Linked DNA regions of Homo sapiens: region 2 is linked to region 1. The links are contacts of gene promoters, found by promoter capture Hi-C in human tissues and cell types (Jung and others, 2019). All regions are on one chromosome and are shown on one strand. The core of a region is centred on a gene start or on the middle of the fragment in contact, and the rest is flanking DNA. Distances in the headings are between cores, read along the strand shown.

Evidence for each region. Contacts are between HindIII fragments. The study calls those that stand out against the background at their distance.
Region 2: the fragment with the promoter of TBC1D2B here is called in contact with a fragment that was not itself captured in region 1 in 1 of the 25 tissues and cell types used here (adrenal gland).

What each region holds. Positions count from the first base shown.
Region 1 is chr15:78,546,710-78,551,241 of GRCh38, forward strand. PSMA4 (proteasome 20S subunit alpha 4) reads left to right here. Exons shown (of 9, transcript NM_002789.6): 9 at 2,081-4,532. The coding sequence ends at 2,235. Among named protein-coding and RNA genes, the nearest start is that of PSMA4, 8.5 kb to the left of the region's middle. The HindIII fragment of the contact is 4,467 bases long and covers 125-4,532 here.
Region 2 is chr15:78,075,388-78,079,952 of GRCh38, forward strand. TBC1D2B (TBC1 domain family member 2B) reads right to left here and starts at 2,324. Exons shown (of 13, transcript NM_144572.2): 1 at 1,906-2,324. The coding sequence starts at 2,265. RefSeq lists silencers at 1,800-1,999, 2,200-2,409, 2,560-2,609. The HindIII fragment of the contact is 18,770 bases long and covers 1-4,565 here.

The sequences.
Region 1 (4,532 bases), core at 1,108-3,607:
CCTCTCCTTTAATTCTTTCGACTGAGTGAGGGAAATTAGCAGCTGTTAAGATTTTTTTCTTTTTTTTTTTTTTTTGAGATGGAGTCTCGCTCTGTTGCCAGGCTGGAGTGCAGTGGCGCAATCTCAGCTCACTGCAACCTCCGCCTCCTTGGTTCAAGTGATTCTCCTGCCTCAGCCTGCCGAGTAGCTGGGACTACAGGCTCGCGCCACCATGCCCAGCTAATTTTTGTATTTTTAGTAGAGACGGGGTTTCACCATGTTGGCCAGGCTAGTCATGACCTCCTGACCTCAGGTGATCCTCCCGCTTCAGCCTCTCAAAGTGCTGGGATTACAGGCGTGAGCCATTGCGCCCAGCCAGCAACTGTTAAGATTTTAACATGTCATCCTAGTTCATTGAAACAGCAACCTTACGAATTAGGTGATGTTATCCCTGTCTTCTAACTGAGGACACTAGGGCTTAATGAGGTTAAGTGAGTTGACCAAGATCAACATTGGTAAATTGTGGAGTCACAATCTCACACTGTATTCCAAACTTAAAGGCTTGATACTGAACAATCTCATTACTCACAGATAGACATCCTGCACTGTGCTACTTTTAGTTAACAGTTATCAAGTCTTCTCATCAATGATATCTTTGCTTGTGTGTATATATGATAAAGCATACGTATGTAGTTATATATTTATACATAGGTTTGGTATACTTTACCAGAGATACAACATTTGCGTGGGTTGTGATACCCTCTCCTGTTCTTCTTAATCTACTAATCTCTTATTTTAAGCTCATGTTAGCAATTCCAAATACCTTGTTCAACTTAAGCTATATGACTATATAAAAGAATATTTCAGTCGAGCTTGGTGGCTCATGCCTGTAATCCCAGCACTTTGGGAGGCTGAGGTGGGTGGATCACCTGAGGCCAGGAGTTCCAGATCAGCCTGGCCAACATGGTGAAGCCCCATCTCTACTTAAAATACAAAAATTAGCTAGGCATGGTGGTGCATGCCTATAAATCCCAGCTACTTGGGAGGCTGAGGCAGGAGAATCACTTGAACCTGGGAAGCGGAGGCTGCAGTGAGTTGAGATCATGCCACTGCACTCCAGCGTGGGTGACAGAGAGAGACTCTGTCTCAAAAAAAAAAAGAATATTTCTAAATGTTTTTCAGAAATTGTGGTAAATTAACATGTTGCTTTATGTTAGGACAGTTTAGCTCCTGGTGTTCCTTAGAAAATGCCATTTACGGCCGGGCATATTGGCTCACGCCTGTAATCCCCAGCACTTTGGGAGGCCGAGGTGGGTGGATCACCTGAGGTCAGGAGTTCAAGACCAGGTTGGCCAACATGGTGAAACCCCTGCCTCTACTAAAAATACAAAAAATTAGCCGGGCGTGGTGGTGCGCACCTGTAATCCTGCTACTCAGGAGGCTGAAACAGGAGAATCACCTGAACCCAGGAGGTGGAGGTTGCAGTGAGCCGAGTTTGCGCCATTGCACTCCAGCCTGGGCAACAAGAGCAAAACTCCATCTCAAAAAAAAAAAGAAAAAGAAAATGTCATTTACATGCAGATTGCCCTCTTTTGTCTACTTCCACCCAGTTTCAAGGAAGCACTACTCAGTTTCCCTGGTACAAAAAAATTCCTTCCCCTTTAGGTATCAGTCTGCTTTTCTTGGCCATTTCATGCCTTTTATTTATTTATTTTTTTAAGAGACTTGAAAAGTCCATAAAAAATAAGCTGTTATTACCAGTTGAAGATTCTGGCTGAGCCCTCAGAGGTTCCAACAGTTCCGTCTAATCAGCACAGCTAATAGCAGGCCGGCAATAGCAATTGGTTGATTATACTTTTTCTAAGGGAGTGACAAAATGGCTGAGGAGACGATATTTAAGTAAAAATTATAATTAAAACATTACAAGATCAAAAGTATATTGTTCTCATAAAAGGGAATAATGTTAAGTATAAAACATAGGAGAGTGCTGAACTAACGTTTCAATGATGTGGCGAGCATAAACCATGAGTGCCTATTAAGCTTCTCTGCTAAGTATGCCTGCCTGCCTGCAATACAAATAAATGTATGTGTTTGTTTTTAGTGGAAATTGCAACACTAACAAGAGAGAATGGAAAGACAGTAATCAGAGTTCTCAAACAAAAAGAAGTGGAGCAGTTGATCAAAAAACATGAGGAAGAAGAAGCCAAAGCTGAGCGTGAGAAGAAAGAAAAAGAACAGAAAGAAAAGGATAAATAGAATCAGAGATTTTATTACTCATTTGGGGCACCATTTCAGTGTAAAAGCAGTCCTACTCTTCCACACTAGGAAGGCTTTACTTTTTTTAACTGGTGCAGTGGGAAAATAGGACATTACATACTGAATTGGGTCCTTGTCATTTCTGTCCAATTGAATACTTTATTGTAACGATGATGGTTACCCTTCATGGACGTCTTAATCTTCCACACACATCCCCTTTTTTTGGAATAAAATTTGGAAAATGGAAATGAAGGAATAAATTCTCTGTAGCAGTAATTGTTAAATATACAAAAACTGACAGGGCGATTACTTTTTGCACATTGTGGCTTACAGTCCTTTCACAAAGATGGGCACGTTCCTCAGGCTGGCCAGATTATTCGTCTCTGTCTGCAGGAATTGGTTTGAGAATGAACACGTGAGCTGAACAAAGCCAGAATTGATGTGTGGGTGTGGATCTCGCAGCTAGGACTGAGGCTGCCCACAGGCAGCAGCTCAAGCTGCGCGGAAGATGAGGTGTAGAAGTTAAGGCCACAGAGGAAAAGTGGAACCAAGAGATGAGAACAGTTACGTGTTGGCTGAAGGGAGCTCTGTTGCTGGGGTTTGTTCAACCTGAGTTCCCTTGGCTATCTGTGGCTTCATGACAGAAGTGATACAGGGCAGTGGTACTTAATGCGTAGCCATGGTGCTTTAGCATCACCTATGCAGATTCTGATGTCCCATCCCAGATCTACTGAATTAAAATCTCTGAGGGTGAAACCCAGTAATCTGTTCTAACAAGCTCTGCATGTGATTCTTAGGAATGCTAAGTAAAACTTTAAGAAGTTTTTGTTGCATATTAGAATCACCTAGGAAGCTTTTGCAGCTTGTAAGCATGCTGTATCGATTAACTCAAGCTCTGTGGTGGAACCCAGATATTAACATTGCTTAAACTCTTCAGGTGATTTCCATCAGCTAGGGTGAGTGCATTGAGCCATCATTTACCCTTCTCTCAGCTGTTGTCAACCAAATATGTGCTCCCAGTCTAATTTCTCATTGTAGATTTTCTTAATGCAGCTCCCTGCAGTTTTCTGTATAGGCTAAAGTATTTACAAGCCCTATTTGCAGCACTTTTTTGAACTTCTAAATTATTCTCTTACTCTGTACAGCAGGTTCTCGTTATTTTTGGTAGTTATGTTCTAAAGTCACCACAAAAACTAACAAAATACTGAACTCTTGCACCTAGAGAAAGTACTGGGTTAGGGTCCTACAAGCCACTGGTCACATTTTTATCAACTGATCAGTACATAACCTGTTTTTTGTGTATTTCTACTTAAAGACACCTTTTTAAATGTGTATTGTGGATTCATTAACATAGAACTCAGCCAACAGCTCTTTACGTGAATGTTTTTGTTTTGTTTTGTTTTTTGAGACTGGGTCTTGCTCTGTCACCCAGGCTGGAGTGCAGTGGCGTGATCATATTTCACTGCAGGCTCAAACGGTCTTCCTGCCTTGACCTCCCAAAGTGTTGACATCACAGCCCTCTTATGCTTAGGAACAACACTAAACAGTGTTTTTTTCATAGAGACGGTGAGCAGGGAAGGTCTCACCATGTTTCCCATGCCGGTCTCAAGCTCCTGGACTCAAGCGATCCTCCTGCCTCAGCCTCCCAAAGTGCTGACATCACAGCCCTCTTGTGCTTAGGAACATTAAACAGCACTTCAGCACTATACCTGGGTGCCATTTGAAATAGTAAAATCACTAAGAAAAATGCAAAAATAAACGGCACAAGGTAGACTGCAGGAACACTTACACGGTGTGAGAGCTGAAACAAGAATTCAGAGTGTCGCCTTGCTCAACCTCAGATGGGAACATGTGCACCTGGGTACTCAAAATTTTCACCACTCTGCATGTCAACAAATGACTAAAAGTACCACAAGTATTGGTTTGGGGGTTACATGTACATTTTATGAGAATGCAAATTTTGCAAATTCACAAGTACAGAATCAGCAAGTAGTGAAGATGAATGGCACGTCTTCACCCTCCAGTCTTGCTACACCCAGAGGTTGAGGTAGTCAATAAATCTTATTAACTCTGTCTGCAGAATTTACCCATAATCCAGCCACTTTCCACTGCAGGAACGCTGGTCCAATTCACCATTATCTCTGACTTGGACTATTGCAACAGCCTCCTAACTGGTTCCTTGCCTCCACTTCATTCCCCACAGTCAATTCTCCAGCAGCAGCCACAGTGATCCTTTCAAAATGTAAACGGTACTACTGCACAGTTTTGGCTCAAAACCCTCCAATGGCTTCCCATCT
Region 2 (4,565 bases), core at 1,074-3,573, 470 kb before region 1:
TGGGGTGTCACCGTGTTAGCCAGGATGGTCTCGAGCTCCTGACCTCGTGATCCACCCGTCTCGGCCTCCCAAAGTGCTGGGATTACAGGAGATTCAGATTATTTTAATGAAAAAAACTGATAGAGTTCTACAGTCATCTGGGAAAAATGTGAAACACGATGCTCTATTTTCTTTAACAAACATCCCACAGGAAATTCGTCCGACACAGGGACAGCCCGTATGTACACTGAGGAAGAGCCTCTGCCTTTGGCAAAGGTCTCCCACTAGGGTCATTACCAAGTTTATACAGGCACTCTCTAAGTAAGCCTGTGTAGGACTGCAACCCGAGTTGGTTTTCTTTGGGGAAACAGGCTGTCTGCACCCACTTACAGACAGGACAGGGGAGCCCAAGAGAACATGGGAATCAGATCCTGCTTGAACTGGCAAAAGCTGAGTCAGCAAAGCTCTAAGAACATCTCCAGGGAGCAGCTCCAGCTGTTAGCAGCTCTGGGGGTCTGAGGAACAGTCCTCAGCTCACAAGGCCAGGAGTTTGCCTAGTCTGCTCTCCGTGTGGCCAGCTTTGAGAGCACTTTCATACATCCCAGCCCAACCCTGTTGCTCTGGAGAAAGCCCAACCTGGAATACGGAAGAGGAGTGAGAGTGAGGGTGGAGACTCACAGAAACCAGGCAGGGAGCAAAGCCTGGAAAAAGGATACCCAGCTCCAGGCCTGGGCCCAGATCCCTCCAGATGCTCAAAGCAGGTGGGCCCCTAGGAGGTGACAGTCTAGTCCCCCAGAACTCCCAAGGACAGGGGAGGCCTTTCAGCACCAGGACTCCTGACTCTACTCTCCTGCTTCTACACTGTATCTCTCATTTTGTCTGTCCACTGGAGGATTAAGGGAGCCTCAAAGGAGCAAGGCATAACTGGCTGAAAAGACCCCCTCCCACCCATCCTGGACAAAGCAAGGAGGAAGAACACAGGATCTGCCACCTACTGGCTGTGTGACCTTAGCTGGAGCATCCCCGTCCACTCTGGAGGAAAATGTAGTGGACTGTCTCTAAGGGCCCTGCCATCTGACTCTTTCTGTCTACAGTGCTAAATGCACTCTGGCTCACGCCTGGCATCCCAGCACTTTGGGAAGCTGGATGGGGAGGATGGTTTCGGCCCAGGAGTTCGAGACTAGCCTGGGCAACATAGTGAGACCCCCGTTTCTTTAAAAAAAAAAAAAAATTTAATTAGCCAGGCGTGGTGGCCCGCACCTGTGGTCCCAGCTACTTGGGAGGCTGAGGTGGGAGGATCTCTTGAGCCCAGGCATGGAGGCTGCAGTGAGCCGAGATCGCACCCCTGCACTCCAGCCTGGACAACAGAACAAGATCCTGTCTCAAAAAGAATAAATAAACAAATAAATAAAAGCACTGACATTTACTGAGCAGTTTAAAGTATAATTCATTTAATCCCAACACCCCATGAGGTAGATACTACTGTTATCCCATTTTACAGAGGAGGCCGCTGCAGCCCAGAGCGGTTCACTGAGGTACCAAGGCCATAGGCAAAGTTCTAAAGGAGGCCCCAGGGGTAGAAGCCTACGCTCACGGATGCCTGGGAAGGCTGCACAGGACATCCACGGGATGGTGGGGGTCGGGAGACACCAGAGACTGGCCCGAGGTTAGGCGCAGAGGGAGATAATGGGTCAAGGTGTCTGAGAAAGGAGACGGGGCTTGGTAGCCCCAGCGAGACTGGCCTAAGCCCAGATAGTGGGGAGGAGATAGGAACGAGGGCGGGATGTGGAGAAGCAGGGAAAGGCAGGCCGACGTGGGCAGGGGCGAGGAGGCCTTGGAGGAAGGAGGGTGGATGGCGCAAGCCAGTGGCGGAGGCAGGGGACGCCGGCGGAAGCGCGCGGGCGGCTTTGGGGCGAGCGGTCCCACCTTGAGCACCGTGACGGCTCCCGCGCTGTGCACCTGGAAGTGCGCGGGCGGCTCCGTGCCCGGCTCCGCCGCCTCGTCGGGGCCCTGGTAGCTGAAGCAGGCGTCCGCGATGTCCAAGTGGCCGAGGGGCAGCGCGTCCTGCGGACTCTTGAAATAGTAAAGGTAGCAGCGGCGCGCGTCGAACACGAACCAGCGGCTGCGGTAGCCACGCAGGGGGCCCTTGCCCGACAGCTTCTGCAGATAGCCACACAGCCGCGCTGGCTCCCGCGCCGGACCCGCCCCGGGCTCCGCGGCCGCCCCCTGCGCCGCGCCCTCGCCGCCGCCGCCGCCCTCCTCCGCCCGGGCTCCGGCCCCCGGCATCGCTACCGCGCGCCAACCGTAGGCGCCCGCGCCCTGCGCCTCCGCGCCGCGGCCGCTGCGCCCCCTACCCCCTCCGCACCGCCCCTTCGCTCCGCACGGCCCGCGGGCGCGCAAAGCACCCTGGGACTTGTAGTCTCGCCCCCGCCCGCCCGCCGGCCGTTGCCCCCTCAGCCCCCGGAGGCAGGGTCCTGCGACCAGCACCCCGCGGGTCAGTTGCCTTCGTGCCACCTGGGCTCCAAGTCCTCGCCCTGCCGGATGAAGCAATGGTCTATTTCTTTATGGCAGTGTAGGTACATGGGAGTGTGCATCTCTCAAAACCCAGCGGAGTGTCCGCTTAAAACTGCATTTCACACTGTGTATCTTATTCTAAAAACTTGATATTTAAATCTCCCTCCTGCCAGAGTCTCAAGCTAATATTGTAAAAATGAGACAGCCTATTGCCTGGTGCTGAGTGGGTGCTCAGTAAATATTTGCAGAATTCATGAAAGCCAAAGCGTTTCCTGCCTCTCCAGACCTCAGTTCATTTATTGAATTCAACATATATTTATTGAGCGCCTTCTGAATGCCGGGTACGGTTCTGTATGCCAGGCCCTGGCGGATACAGCAGTGAACAAACCAATCATTCTCCTGCCCTCGTGGAGGTTATATTCTAGTAAGGCAGGGAGGTGACACACAAGAAAGCAGATAAAAGTAATGTGTGCTATGTTGTATAAATGCCGTGATGACATGTAAATGATTACCGCTTAAAATAGCACCTAGTATTTATCAGTGCTTTATAGACTAACTTATTTGAACACTCACAACCTGAGAAGGCAAATCTATTGCTTTGTAATAAAGCAAAGAGAAAGAATGAATAAGACCAAGTATTTGCTAGCACAACAGGGTGACTACAGTCAAAAATAATATAATTGTACGTTTAAAAATAACCAAAAGAGTATAATACAGACGCGGTGGTTCACGCCTGTAATCCCAGCAGTTTGGGAGGCCGAGGTGGGTGGATCACCTGAGGTCGGGAGTTCGAGACCAGCCTGACCAACATGAAGAAACCCTGTCTCTACTAAAAATACAAAATTAGCTGGGCGTGGTGGTGCATGCCTGTAATCCCAGCTACTCGGGAGGCTGAAGCAAGAGAATCTCTTGAACCCCGGAGGTGGAGGTTGCAGTGAGCCGAGGTTGCGCCATTGCACTCCAGCCTGGGCAACAAGAGCAAAACTCTGTCTAAAAAGAAAAAAAAAAGTATAATAGGATTGTTTGTAACACAAAGGATAAATGCTTGAGGTGATGGATACCTTACTTACCCTGATTTGATTATTATGCATTGCATGCCTGTATTAAAATATCTCATGTAACCCATAAATATATACACCTACTATGTTCCCACAAGAATAAAAAATAAGTAAAAAGCAAAGTGAGAGGATGAAGTGATGGGGGGCAGATAGCAGGCTGCTGCCCCAGGACAGGCAAGGAGGCTGGTCTGATCCTGTGACATGGAGCACAAACCCAGATGATGGGAGGGACAGGGGCAACCAGAAATGTGGGTGAAGCATTCCAGGGAGAGGGAATAGTGAGTACAAGAGCTCACTTTATTCAAAGGAAAAAGGAAGTGTATAGCTACATAGCTACATTTGTGAAAGCCCAAACCAAATATCTCACCCTCATAGATTTGCATGTTTTATACAGACACACTGAAAGACCCAGGTGGAAAACTGACCTTTCTGAGCTGGACAGGGACACAAATTAGACTGCCTGTTTGGAGCCACCCAGGTAGGAAGGGCAGGTTCTGGGTCCTCACCCAGCCTGCCGACTCTCTGCAGGCCCTAAAGTGGCACCACGCAAGCATTCCTTTCCTGGGGCCCATCAGAGGTGTGGCTGACCTCTCCACCTGTCTTTGAGCACAATCAGCACAGTGTTAAGGACTGGGCTCTGACTTCACACTGACCAGATGTGTCTCCTAGCTCTGCCACTTACCAGAGGCATGACCTTGGGCAAGTGATTTAACCTCTCTGGGCCTCAGTCTCTTCATTTATAAAACAGGGTTGATAAATACAAGTAGCTATCTCGTGCTGTTGTTATTGAAAGGGTTACGTGAGAAATGCATATGAAAGTGCTTAGCACGGTGCCTCACACATAGTAAGCACTCAGCACATATCAGCTGTTATTATTATCATCTTGCAGTTAACACCGATGTCTTCCTCATCAGTCAGCAGATTCGGAGAGGGGGAATCCAACAGTCAGACCGGGCCCAGACAAGGGAGGCCAGACACTGCGGTGCTGCGGGAGTGGAGTGGGCTGCTCTCGGG